4 separate regions of the Homo sapiens genome follow, and regions 2, 3 and 4 are each linked to region 1. Evidence: promoter capture Hi-C in human tissues and cell types (Jung and others, 2019). All regions are on one chromosome and are shown on one strand. The core of a region is centred on a gene start or on the middle of the fragment in contact, and the rest is flanking DNA. Distances in the headings are between cores, read along the strand shown.

The links. The method cuts DNA at HindIII sites, captures the fragments that hold promoters and counts their contacts. A contact is called where the count stands out against the background at its distance.
Region 2: a fragment that was not itself captured here is called in contact with the fragment with the promoter of SLC35C1 in region 1 in 2 of the 25 tissues and cell types used here (bladder and heart right ventricle).
Region 3: a fragment that was not itself captured here is called in contact with the fragment with the promoter of SLC35C1 in region 1 in 2 of the 25 tissues and cell types used here (lymphoblastoid cells and psoas muscle).
Region 4: a fragment that was not itself captured here is called in contact with the fragment with the promoter of SLC35C1 in region 1 in 1 of the 25 tissues and cell types used here (thymus).

The regions. Positions count from the first base shown.
Region 1 is chr11:45,803,608-45,806,398 of GRCh38, reverse strand. SLC35C1 (solute carrier family 35 member C1) reads right to left here and starts at 1,250. Exons shown (of 2, transcript NM_018389.5): 1 at 63-1,250. The coding sequence starts at 597. RefSeq lists silencers at 996-1,225, 1,956-2,125 and an enhancer at 2,296-2,455. The HindIII fragment of the contact is 31,315 bases long and covers 1-2,791 here.
Region 2 is chr11:45,333,646-45,336,436 of GRCh38, reverse strand. No RefSeq gene overlaps it. Among named protein-coding and RNA genes, the nearest start is that of LINC02696, 20 kb to the left of the region's middle. The HindIII fragment of the contact is 4,338 bases long and covers 1-2,791 here.
Region 3 is chr11:45,352,430-45,355,220 of GRCh38, reverse strand. No RefSeq gene overlaps it. Among named protein-coding and RNA genes, the nearest start is that of LINC02696, 1.5 kb to the left of the region's middle. The HindIII fragment of the contact is 6,284 bases long and covers 1-2,791 here.
Region 4 is chr11:45,369,785-45,372,575 of GRCh38, reverse strand. It overlaps LINC02687 (long intergenic non-protein coding RNA 2687), which reads right to left and starts at 1,179. Exons shown (of 5, transcript NR_122071.1): 1 at 1-1,179. The HindIII fragment of the contact is 5,980 bases long and covers 1-2,791 here.

The DNA.
Region 1 (2,791 bases), core at 1-2,500:
TGTTCTTCACTGCTTCAGTCCCCATGACCACTCTATCCCCCGTGGCCCCAGCTGCCACTCACCGATGATGATACCGCAGGTGAGCAGGGCATAGAAGGAGGTGGTCTGCTTGAGCAGCAGGTAGGAGAGCAGCACGTTGAAGACGGTGGTGAGTGAGCGGCCCACATTGTAGAAGGCCACACCGACGTACTTGAGGCAGAGGTTATTGAAGGTGATCATGCCGATGAAGACCACCGACAGGGGCAGGACGCTGCGGGCCACCCTGAGGTCCAGGCGCAAGCTGGGGAAGTCCACGGCACCAGGGCAGCAGGCGGCCAGAGCGCTGAGGCCTTTGCACAGCAGCGTGGTCACCAGGCACTGGTAGAAGGTGACGAAGATGGGGGTGTCCAGCCGCAGGGAGGGGCTGTCCAGCAGGTACTTATTAAGGAACACCATGGAGATGGAGGTGACCCAGTAGAGGGAGACCACCAGCGCGATCTGCAATGCCCGCAGCAGAAAGGGCTTCTCCCCGTTGGCCTCTGCCTCTGCAGAGGGGTCTGAGGCCCCGGTCAGCGCCATGTGCAGGATCCTGGACCGCTTCAGAGGGGCCCTATTCATGGTAGCAGAGGAGCTGGGTCACCCCGCGGCCAGAACTCTGATTCCCTGGAGTCCAGGGCAGTGAGCTCACTTGTGCTCTCCGCAAGGAAGCCGCAGCCCTCCATTGTCACATGTGGGCTGGCCTAAAGGCCTCCCCATTGTCCTCATGGATTGAGAAGTTCTGCTTTGGGGTGAGCCCAGTTGTGCTGCTCCACAACCTACTCCCACCCCGAGGGGGCTCTGAGACAAGACACAGGGCAAGGGAGAGGAATAGGATAAGGCGGTGAGGCCAGGACAGAGAAGACCTGTGAGGGGAGAAGAGGCTGGGGCCTAACAGGGAGGGGTCGCAGAGAGAAGGGAGGGGAGAGGAATGGCAGGGCGGGGCAGGAGTAGGTACGCGGGGCGAAGGTGCAGGAAAAGGACGCGTGGCAGAGTGGGAAGAGGTGCCGAGAGGGCGTCATGGGCGGCTGTGGGAGGGAGGGGCGGGCAGGGGGAGGGAGGCGTACAGGGAGCTGCCGGAGGCCGGGCGCGGCTGGAGGGAGGGCTGCGGAAGGGTCAGAGGGGCTCGGGGCTTGGGGCTGAAGGACGCGGGAGGGGGCTGGGCCGGCGCCCACGTCTCGCTGCCTTCCCGGGCTCTGTCGCCGGCTCAGCCCAGGAGCCTCCGGACATCCGAGGCCGACTCCCCGGGAGGCGGGCCCTGGACTCACTTCCTGACACGCCCCCACGTGGCCTTAAAGGGCCCGCACGCCCCGCCTTGCCCTTAAAGCGACAGCCCCAGAGAGGCGGAGTTCGCCAGTCCCCAGCCCCGCCCCTGCGCTCCGCTGCCCGCTGCTGGCGGGGGACCTCGGCAGCCACAGGTTTTTCTGGGTGCTTGAGCCTCGCCCTGCTTCCTGGAAGGGCTCCATCAACCTCGCCTGCCCACCCTCAGCTCCGTCCGCCCCGGAGCCTCCGTCCCCCGACTTGGCTAGGCTTGGCTCGCAGGTCCACTTCCCGGAACCCCGACCCAGGACCCGGGCGGCGCTACATCAGCCTGGACCCCTCCACCTCCGGAGACTCGCGTTGCAGCCCCGCGTCCCTCTGCCAATCCGAGCTCACTCTTCCATAACAATGTTGTGGTCCCCTCCTTTCCCCCCATTTTCACCGCCCCCAGGCCCTCTCCCAAGCCCGAGACCCCCGGCAGCGCTCCCCGAGGCCGGAGGCCACGCCGCCTCTCTCGGACTTCAGTTTGTCCTCCCTGTGCTCCTGTCGAGGTCCTCTGGGCGGCCCGGATCCGAGATTCCAAAGGCTCAAGACAGCATCTCTTACCCCTTCCAGAAAATACTGTTTCCCCGGCCGGTCCAGCCGCATCAGCTCCCGCGTCCCTGCCTGTGTCCCCGGGCCGCGAAGGCGACCTGGCGCTCACCTCCTCCGGTGCACTGGGCGCCCGCCCCGCGACCCCGTGCTGCATCTGCAGCGCCGCACCCTGGGCCGCGCCCGCGGGATCGACTTCCTGCTTTCCGCCCCGGGCCCGGGCACCTTGCCAGCCTCGCCGGCCTGTTCGCGGCATGGGCCCCGGGGGTGCCGGCGGAGAGGCGGTGATCCGGACGGTCGTGGGAGGAGGCCCTCTCCTCTTTCCAAGGCTACTCCTGTCCCTGGTACCCCCGCCCGCCCGGGACCCGGCTTCAGTTACCGCAGCTGGCACGTCCCGGGACTTGGCTGTATCCCTGGCCCGCCGCGCTACCGGCTTGCACTTCCAGAAGTGCGTGCGGGGACCGCTCGGATTCTTCCAGCTGGCAGTGAGGGGGAGGGTTCCCCGCCCCTTCCAGGGCCGGGGCCTGGGAAGTCTAGCCTGTGGTCTGCCACTCACCAGGCAGCCGGGGAGACCAGGAGGATCGACTTCTCTTGGTTCGCGCTCTAGCACCTGCGTTGGGCAGGCCACTTTCTCCGACGGCCTGAGTTATCTTCATGGTAAAACTAAGGGGCTAGGCTTGACCTGTGGGTCCCAACCTTCTTGCCCAGAACTCTAGGTGGTATGGTCGAACATAGATGTTTGTAATATTTCAAGCACCATTTAATTAGTGCCATTTAATTAACGGGTAAGATGATGTCATGGCTGGGATTTGTTTTAAAATACTAAGAATACTTACCAAAAATATTTTTTATTTTTATTTATTTATTCTTTTTGGGACGGAGTCTCGCTCCGTCGCCCAGGCTGGAGTGCAGTGGTGCTATTTCA
Region 2 (2,791 bases), core at 1-2,500, 470 kb after region 1:
GAAAGCTGGTGGGTGAACCTGGAGAGGCCTAGCAATGGGACGCAGGGGGTGCAGACGCTTAGGTACCTGATGAGGGAAGACAGAGTGGCAGTGGCTGTGACAGCAGTGAATGCAGATGATATCAGACATCAATACACAGGCCTGGCAAATTACATCAACCTCGGATGCTCCGTAGGAGGGAACTAGATGAGGGGAAGGGGAGTGCCCCTCACACCACCAATGCCTGGAGAGGACAGAGGGGAAGGAGCCTTAATTGACAGAGCTTGAGAGCACCTGACAGTGACAGTTTACCTTGAGTTGGCAGGATTGAGTTTTGCACTCCCAGGGGAGAGTAATGTGCGCGTTCACTTCCTTTTGAAAGAAATTGATGAACTCTAACACCTATGCTTGCTAAATAAGAGCAGATGTACCATCTCTTTGTAGAGCATTCAAATAATACAGAATGGTAGCTAATATATAGTGAGGATTTGCCACGTGCCAGGAACTGATCTAATGCTTTATGTGTGGTTAAGGCCAAGGTCCTTGGTTGCAGGCAACAGAGTCCACATTAGCAAGTTCATGCTGACAGAGATCTATTAAAATGTATTTATTAAATACTTAATGGACTTTTTTGGGGGGACCACAGAATCAAGCTTAAATGGTACTCAGACCAGGACAGACCTGGACAACAGAGTCAGCCAAGCCCTTAAAATGCCCCCACTCTCTGCAGAGCTGTTCAGAGAGCCCTCTGCTGCTTCCACCTGTTAACTGACACTCATGATGTTTGGGACTGAAGTCAAAACTCCTCCCAATTTCCCAGAACACCCAGCACCCCTGCCTCTGTGCCTTCCAGCAGGTCCAGGCTCCCAGCCTTCTTGCACCACTCACTTCCACATGCAAGTCCTGAATGAGTGTAACTGGTTGGTGGAAAGCAGGCCATGTGCCTGCACTCTAGCTGCAAAGGAGTCTCAAATTTGGTTTTCAGTTTTGCAGTTTCTAGAGTGCAGGAAGGTAGTCTAGAAGGAATAGGAATGTGTGCCCAACTGAGTCACACAGGCACTAATTTCTCTTTTACAGATGCAGAAACTAAGGTACAGAGGGTTGCATCTTTTCATTCTCTTTGAATCTTGATTGTTAGGAATGAGCGACCCCACTCTGGTTTAGGGGAACTCGAATTCATTTTCCTATTTTTCCTTAGCACAAAAAAAGACCTCAGGTACAGAATGTTCAAAAAGCACCCTCCATCAGGAAATCCACCCCAAAATTAAGAAGAGGTCATAATTCAAGGACGGTCCTCCTTTCCAGAAACACTGTGGCCTGCCATCTCTTACCGCATTTTCCTTCTAAGCTGCCATCTGCTTCTCGGATAGAGGATGTGTATTAGGATTTTGCTTCTCTCTTGGGGCCTCTGATCCTGTGTTAAATTTTCTGCGTGGGCCCTTTTGGCTTTCCTTCCATTTTTGTGCTGTTTTCCTTTGTGTCTGTAACTGCAACTCCCTCACTTTCTAACAACAAGGAGGCTATGATTTCGGATTTAAGTCCTTACTAAATTTCTTTTCAAGTCATCTACAAAATTATTTCCATTTGGCACTTGAAGCTCTGCTCCCTCTTCTATTAACTCAAGTGAACAGTAGCTGCATTGCTGGATGCATTTCCACATTTCCTCCAATGCCTTTCAGACTGGTACATAACTGAAAAACAGTCCACGAGGTTGCCTCTTCAGCTTTCAGTGGCCAAACAGGATTTCAGTCTAACCGTCCTGGTGAACGCCTCATCTATTTTGCCCTGCCAGGAGCAGGCCCGGCTGTGCTGAAGCCCTGGAACGTTCTACCACCTCCCGCCTCCTACTCAACCTTCTCACACATGGAGGCAGAGGTGAGGTCAAAATTAAGGACTGGTATGGAGAAACATCATGAACAGCAACATCTCAAATCAAGCAACTTAAGGAAGGGGCCGGGCGCGGTGGTTCATGCCTGTAATTCTAGCACTTTGGGAGGCCGAGGTGGGTGGATCACCTGAGGTCAGGAGTTCAAGAACCAGACTGGCCAACATGGTGAAACCCCGTCTCTACTAAAAATACAAAAATTAGCTGGGCATGGTGGTGGGTGCCTGTAATCCCAGCTACTCGGGAGGCTGAGGCAGGAGAATTGCTTGAACCCGGGGGTGGTGATTGCCGTGAGCCGAGATCGCACCACTGCACTCCAGCCTGGGCAAAAGAGCAAGATTCCATCTCAAAAAAATGAACAAATAAATAAATATAAATAAGGAAGCCCAAATAAAAAAAATTATAAATGAAGAAAATCGCTCAGAAATACATCCTGAGTTCCAGAGAGAGGATTGAAGTGGAGAAAATATGTCAACGAAAAGCTTTCAAATTTAAGTTCTGAAAAGGCTCATGCAACTGGAACCTGGAGATGCTATTAGGCAAGGGGTCTTAATGATTTTGGTCGGCACGTGCCCCCTGCCCCCTTTCTTTCATGCTAACAGAGCCCTGGTTTTTGTCTCTGTTAGAAGGCCAGATCCCTTCATCTCAGGAAGGGTAGGTCCTTTGCAGGCATTGGTCCAGGGTCCACCATGTGACCTCATTCCGGCCAATGAGATAGGAGAAGCCTCCTGCAGGGCTTCCGGGAAATATTTTCTTTCTGGGCACAGGAATCACGGCAGAAGAAAGTCTTTTCTCTCCCCCTGCTCCTTACTTCCTGTCTTAAATGTAGGCTGTGTGTAGATGTGACTCATGGAATCGAGGCTGCCATCTTGTGATCAGGAGAGAAGACCAAGAGAACAGCGGGAATGTTATGGTTATGTGAGACAG
Region 3 (2,791 bases), core at 259-2,758, 450 kb after region 1:
ACATTTAAATTTCCTAGCCGGAAACACTGAAAAGATGAACTGTCAAGAGGCGTTTGAACCAGAGGGACTCCATCTTGAATAGGGGCTGCATAAAAGAAGGTGGAGACCTGCTGGGATGCATTCCCAGGAGGTTAGGCATTCTAAGTCACAGGATGAGACAGGGAGGTCAGCACAAGATACAGGTCACAAAGACCCTGCTGGTAAAACAGGATACTTAAAGAAGCCGGCCAAAATCCACCAAAACCAAGATTGGCAATGAAAGTGAACTCTGGTTGTCCCCACTGCTCATCATATGCTAATTATAATACATTAGCTTGCTGAAAGACTCTCCCACCAGCACCATGAGCATTTACAAATGCCATGGCGATGTTAGGAAGTTACTCTATATGATCTGAAGGCGAGGGTGGAACCCTCAGTTCTGGGAATTGCCACTCCTTTCCCCAGAATACTCTTGACTAATCTACCCCTTGTTTAGTGTATAATCAATAAATAACGTATACACAGTTGAACAGCCCATGCCGCTGTTCTGCCTATGGTGTAGCCAATCGTTTATTCCTTTACTTTTTTAATAAACTTGCTTTCACTTTACTCTTTGAACTTGCCCCAAATTCTTCGTTGCTTAAAGTCTAAGAATCCTCTCTTGGGGTCTGGATGGGGACCCCTTTTCATTAACATAACCACTTTACAATAGTTGAGGGTTTCAAGCACCAGGCTGGTGAGTACAGAGTACATGGCCCTGCTTTTCTTGACTTTGGTTACTTGGACTCAGGCCACAGCTGAAGAATACAGGAGGGAGGGAGGGAGAGAGAGAGATCATTGGGAAGCAGGTGGCGGCAGTGGTGGTGGTGGATTGGGTGTGTGAAATTTGCAGAGTTGGGGTGACTGCCAGGCTTCTGGGCTGATAGCTGGGAGAATGTTGGGCCATCACATACTAAAAGGGAACCACAGGAGAAGAAGCTGATGTGTGGGAAGTTTGGTTTTACATATATTAAGCCTTGAAGGTCTTCTAGGGGAGAAACTCAACAGGCCAATGGATGTGCCTGGTTTGATTTTTTAGATGACAGGCCTGAGCTAGAAATCTGTGCCTTAGATTCTTGTATATGAATGGTGCTAGAGCAGGAGCTTAGAAGAAATTGCCTGGTGGAGAGAATACCCTTTGGGAAAGAGGCGCAGGACAGAGTGTCAAGAGCTCTTCTACTAAAGAAAGGGAAGATGAGCAGGCAGCCCTAGGAGAGGAACCAGGGAAATGCGGCATTGCAGGGAGCAAGGGAAGAGCACTTCAGGAAGAGTAATTAGGTCAGTTTTGCTGATAAATTAGTGAGATGACTGAGCAGACTTTGTTGTTACCTGGAGCAGATTCCTTGGAATGGCTGGAGAAGGTCAGCTTGTGGTGAGTTGAGGAATAAGTGAGGGTGATGGTGAGAAAATGGAGATAAATGAACATAGGCAAATCTTCCAAGAAGTTGTCTGTGAAGAAATGAGAGTGATTCTGAAAGGAAAATGATGATTTTTAATTATTATTTTTTAAGATTGGAGAAACATAAGCTTGTTTTGGGGGGTTTTTGTTTTGTTTTGTTTTCTTGAGATGTAGTCTCACTCTGTTGCCGAGGCTGGAGTGCATTGGTGTAATATTGGCTCACTGCAACCTCTGCCACTGGGGTTCAAATGATTCTCCTACTTTAGCCTCCTGAGTAGCTCTGATTGCAGGCACGCGCCACCACGCTAGGCTAATTTTTGTATTTTTAGTAGAGATGGGGTTTCACCATGTTTGCCAGGCTGGTCTCAAACTCCTGACCTCAGTTGCTCCCACCTTGGCCTCCCAAAGTGCTGGGATTACAGGCACGAGCCACCACACCCAGCCAAAGCTTGTTTAAATATTGATGAGAAGGAGCCAGGGATTTTTTATGTTGATCAGCCCATGGACAAACTGAAGAGTGGCCTTGACTGTTTCCTGGCAAATGATAGTAAAGACCCTTGAGGAAAGAGTGCCTCTTTCTAATTCACACACATGGCCAGAGCAGCCGTGGATGAAAGTTTGATGCTGGAAGGTGAAGTATGTCCTGTCTTGCAGTGTGCATTTTGCCTAGGAAAGGGAGGTGAGATCATTGAAGGAAGGAGATGAAGTGCCTGAGAAGTTTGAGATCAGTGGAGGATGTGTGCGTGGCTGTAGGGGTTGGGGGGATAGCAGAGCAAGCAGATTTTAGCCATGTAGATTCCTAGATAGTGACTCTACAGTAACCTTAAAATGTCTGAAATAGGATAATAGCCTCTTTTTTTTTTTTTTTTTTTGACAGAGTCTTGCTCTGTTGCCCAGGCTGGAGTGCAGTGGCACCATTTCGGCTCACTGCGACCTCTGCCTCCAGGGTTCAAGCGATTCTCATGCCTCACCCTCCAAAGTAGCTGGGATTACAGGCGTGTGCCACCACACCTGGCTAATTTTTGTATTTTTAGTAGAGAGACAGGGTTTCACCATGTTGGCCAGGCTGGTCTCGAACTCCTGACCTCAAGTGATCCACCCACCTTGACCTCCCAAAGTGTTGGGATTACAGGCGTGAGCCACTGCGCCCGGCCCAGCCTCCTTTATAGTAGGAGTCAGGAGACAGCAGATGACCAGAGACTGCAGCCAGTGCCATGTATTGGTTTTGGTACCCATACTCAGCTCTCAGTTTTCCATGTCCTGTTGTTTACCCTACTTGTCTGACTTTAAAATGTCTTTTTGTTATTGGGAATCTGATAAGTTCTATCTTAATATGCATTTTTATTACTTGTAATTTTACAGATCTCTCAGTGA
Region 4 (2,791 bases), core at 134-2,633, 430 kb after region 1:
ACTTTGAGAGGCCAAAGCAGGCGGATCACCTGAGGTCAGGAGCTCGGAGACCAGCCTGGCCAATATGGTGAAACCCCGTCTCTATTAAAATACAAAAATTAGCTGGGCGTGGTGGCGCGCGCCTATAATCCCAGCTACTCAGAAGGCTGAGGCAGGAGAATCACTTGAATCAGGGAGGTGGAGGTTGCAGTGAGCTGAGATCACGCCATTGCACTATAGCCTGGGTGACAGTGAAACGCCATCTCAAAAAAAAAAAAAAATTGTGTGATCCTACACTCTCCCTCTCTGGCCTTTAGCTTGGTATTATAAAAATGGGGATACTATTTCCTTGGAGAGTTATATGTAGATTTAATGAGCACAGAGCTTTTAGATCCAGGTTTCATGGAAGCACCAAAGTGTCTGTTAGGAGTGGGGAGGATGCTACATGGTGAGAGACAGGGCCTTAGGTGCCCCATCCCCTTCCATCAGAGGCGCTTCCCTGGTGTTTGTTTACACGGCCAGGTTAGGCTTGCGATTTTGGATGGAGGAAAGGGTTATGCAGCTGAAAGAAAGCAGAAAGACCGCTGCTCTAGTTGTTGAGGAAGTGCTGGGCACCCAGCGGGCACTTAATAAATGTTAGCACTTTCCCTCTCCTCGCCCCCATCATTCTCCCCCCTGGATTCTTTATTAGATGGCTCGGCGAAAACCTGGACCCAGATGAATGGAGAGAAGGCAGCAGGCAGAAGATGGAGTGCTTTTAAAATATCAAGCGAATCACTGCAGGGGTGGAGTGCCTGGCGGGGGCTAGGGGTCACGGAGGCTGTGACCCAAATACGACGGGGCACAGGCTCACCACAGCTCCACACTGAGGGCCCCTGCCTGCAACCAGCACAGAAAAGGCTCCCCAGAAACAGGGGAACCGGCCCCTGCCCCACCAACGCCGTTCGCAACAGGCTCACCCCCTCCTCCTCCTCCTCTCTTGAATGGAAGGACCCAGAGGAAAAGAGAGAGCTCTGAAATGTGCGAAGGGGCACAAGAGGTGGGGAGGCCCAGTGGGCTGACCTGGCTGCTTCTTGCAAATAAGCGGGGCCTGCTGCACTGCGAGGGCACCGAGAAGAAAGAGCTGCCATCAACCCTGCCGGGTTTTTCTCAGATCCTCTGAAAACGAATCTCCTGGGAGCAGCTCGGCAACCGGAGCCATAGCGCCACCTACAGGCTTCCTTCTGCCATGCACTTTGCCTTCAAATACCCCTTTTCAGCAGCAGGTATTACACGCTAGGTATGCCAGGGGCGGGAGCTCACATCAAATCCACTGAACTGCGAGGTGTCGTGTTGCTGATACGCTCAGACAAATGAGCTTGGCGTAGAGAGAACGGTCGTTGCTAACGTGTATCTTGCAGGAAGGGTGTCAGGGCTGCGCTCCAGGCAGGAAGCTGGCAGAGTTGACAGCCAATCTCCCATCTTGATGATGGGGAAACTGAGGCCGAAACTGTCCACAGTTACACAGTGAGTTGAAGGCAGAGCTAGGACAGGAAGTATTCTGTGCCTCTCCACTTGGATGGCTGTTCCCCTGTTAATTCCGCAATAACTGTACTGTGACAGCCACAGGAGCCTGCAGCACACACACTAAAGAGTGGCTCCTTTTCACTCAGAAATGTCAGGAGATGGGGCCAAGTTTAGAGGTTGCAGCTACAGATAAGCCTCCGAATACGGGCTCCATGGGGCCTGGGGATAGGCCCCTGCTCTGAATGTGGATGTGAGAGGATTTAGTTCGCAAAACTGACTTTCCCTCCTACACACCCTCACGCTCACACTCTCCATCTAGCAAACTGTTTGTCCTTTATGGCCCACTCACAGGTTGCTGTCTTCCAAAGCCTTCTCTGATCCCTTCTCCCTGCCAGTGGAGTCTGTCATCTGTGCCACCACAGTACTTATTCGAGACATTGATCATTGAACAGGTCCCTCTGTATTATGATGATTTCTGTGTCTGTTTGTCTAAATGGAGAGTTCTGGTGTCTCCAAAGCTCAGCCCAGAGCCAGACACAAAGCAGGTGGTCACTCCAAAAAGGATGGGTAGATGGAAGGATGGGTGGGTGTGTGGGTGGGTGGGTGAGTGGATGAAAGGGTGGGTGGATGGATGGGTGGGTGGGTGGGTGGATGAAAGAGTGGGTGGATGGATGGGTGGGTGAGTGGGTCGAGAGATGGATGAGTGGGTGGACAGCAAATGAAGCACACCTAGAGGATGGGGAACTACTCTATTCTATATTCTAGAACAGGGATAGCATCTGTTTCTAAGGAGACCTACATCTAAAAGCATCTGCTCCCAAGTCTAAGTCAAAAAGCATAACAGGGTATGCATGCTAAGGGCGGTTGGGCTGGCCCCCTCCTCCTCCTGACTGCCCCTTCCCCCTGGTTTCCCAGATAACCCATTAGAAACCTGCCAGGGGTCTCCAAGGTGTAGTTCCCTGAATGCCTGCAGCAGAATCACCTGAAGAGTTTGTTAAAATGCAGGCTTCTGGGCCCTTCCCTCAGAGATTCTGATTCTGCGAGCCTGAGGAAGGGCCTGGGAATATGTATGTTTAAATCAGCACCAACCAAGTGAGGCTGATGTGAAGGTAAGTTTGATACCACTCATCAACACAGTACAAGGACATGCCAGAAACTGCCTTTGCTGACAGTCCACCCACAAAGGCTTAAAGAAACGACCCTGCCTCACAGACACCAAACGGTAGAAAGTGCCTATGGAGTCTTCAAACATCTAGAAGTCCAGGGAGAGGGAGGGCTTCCAACTCCCTCCACACATCTCACCCCA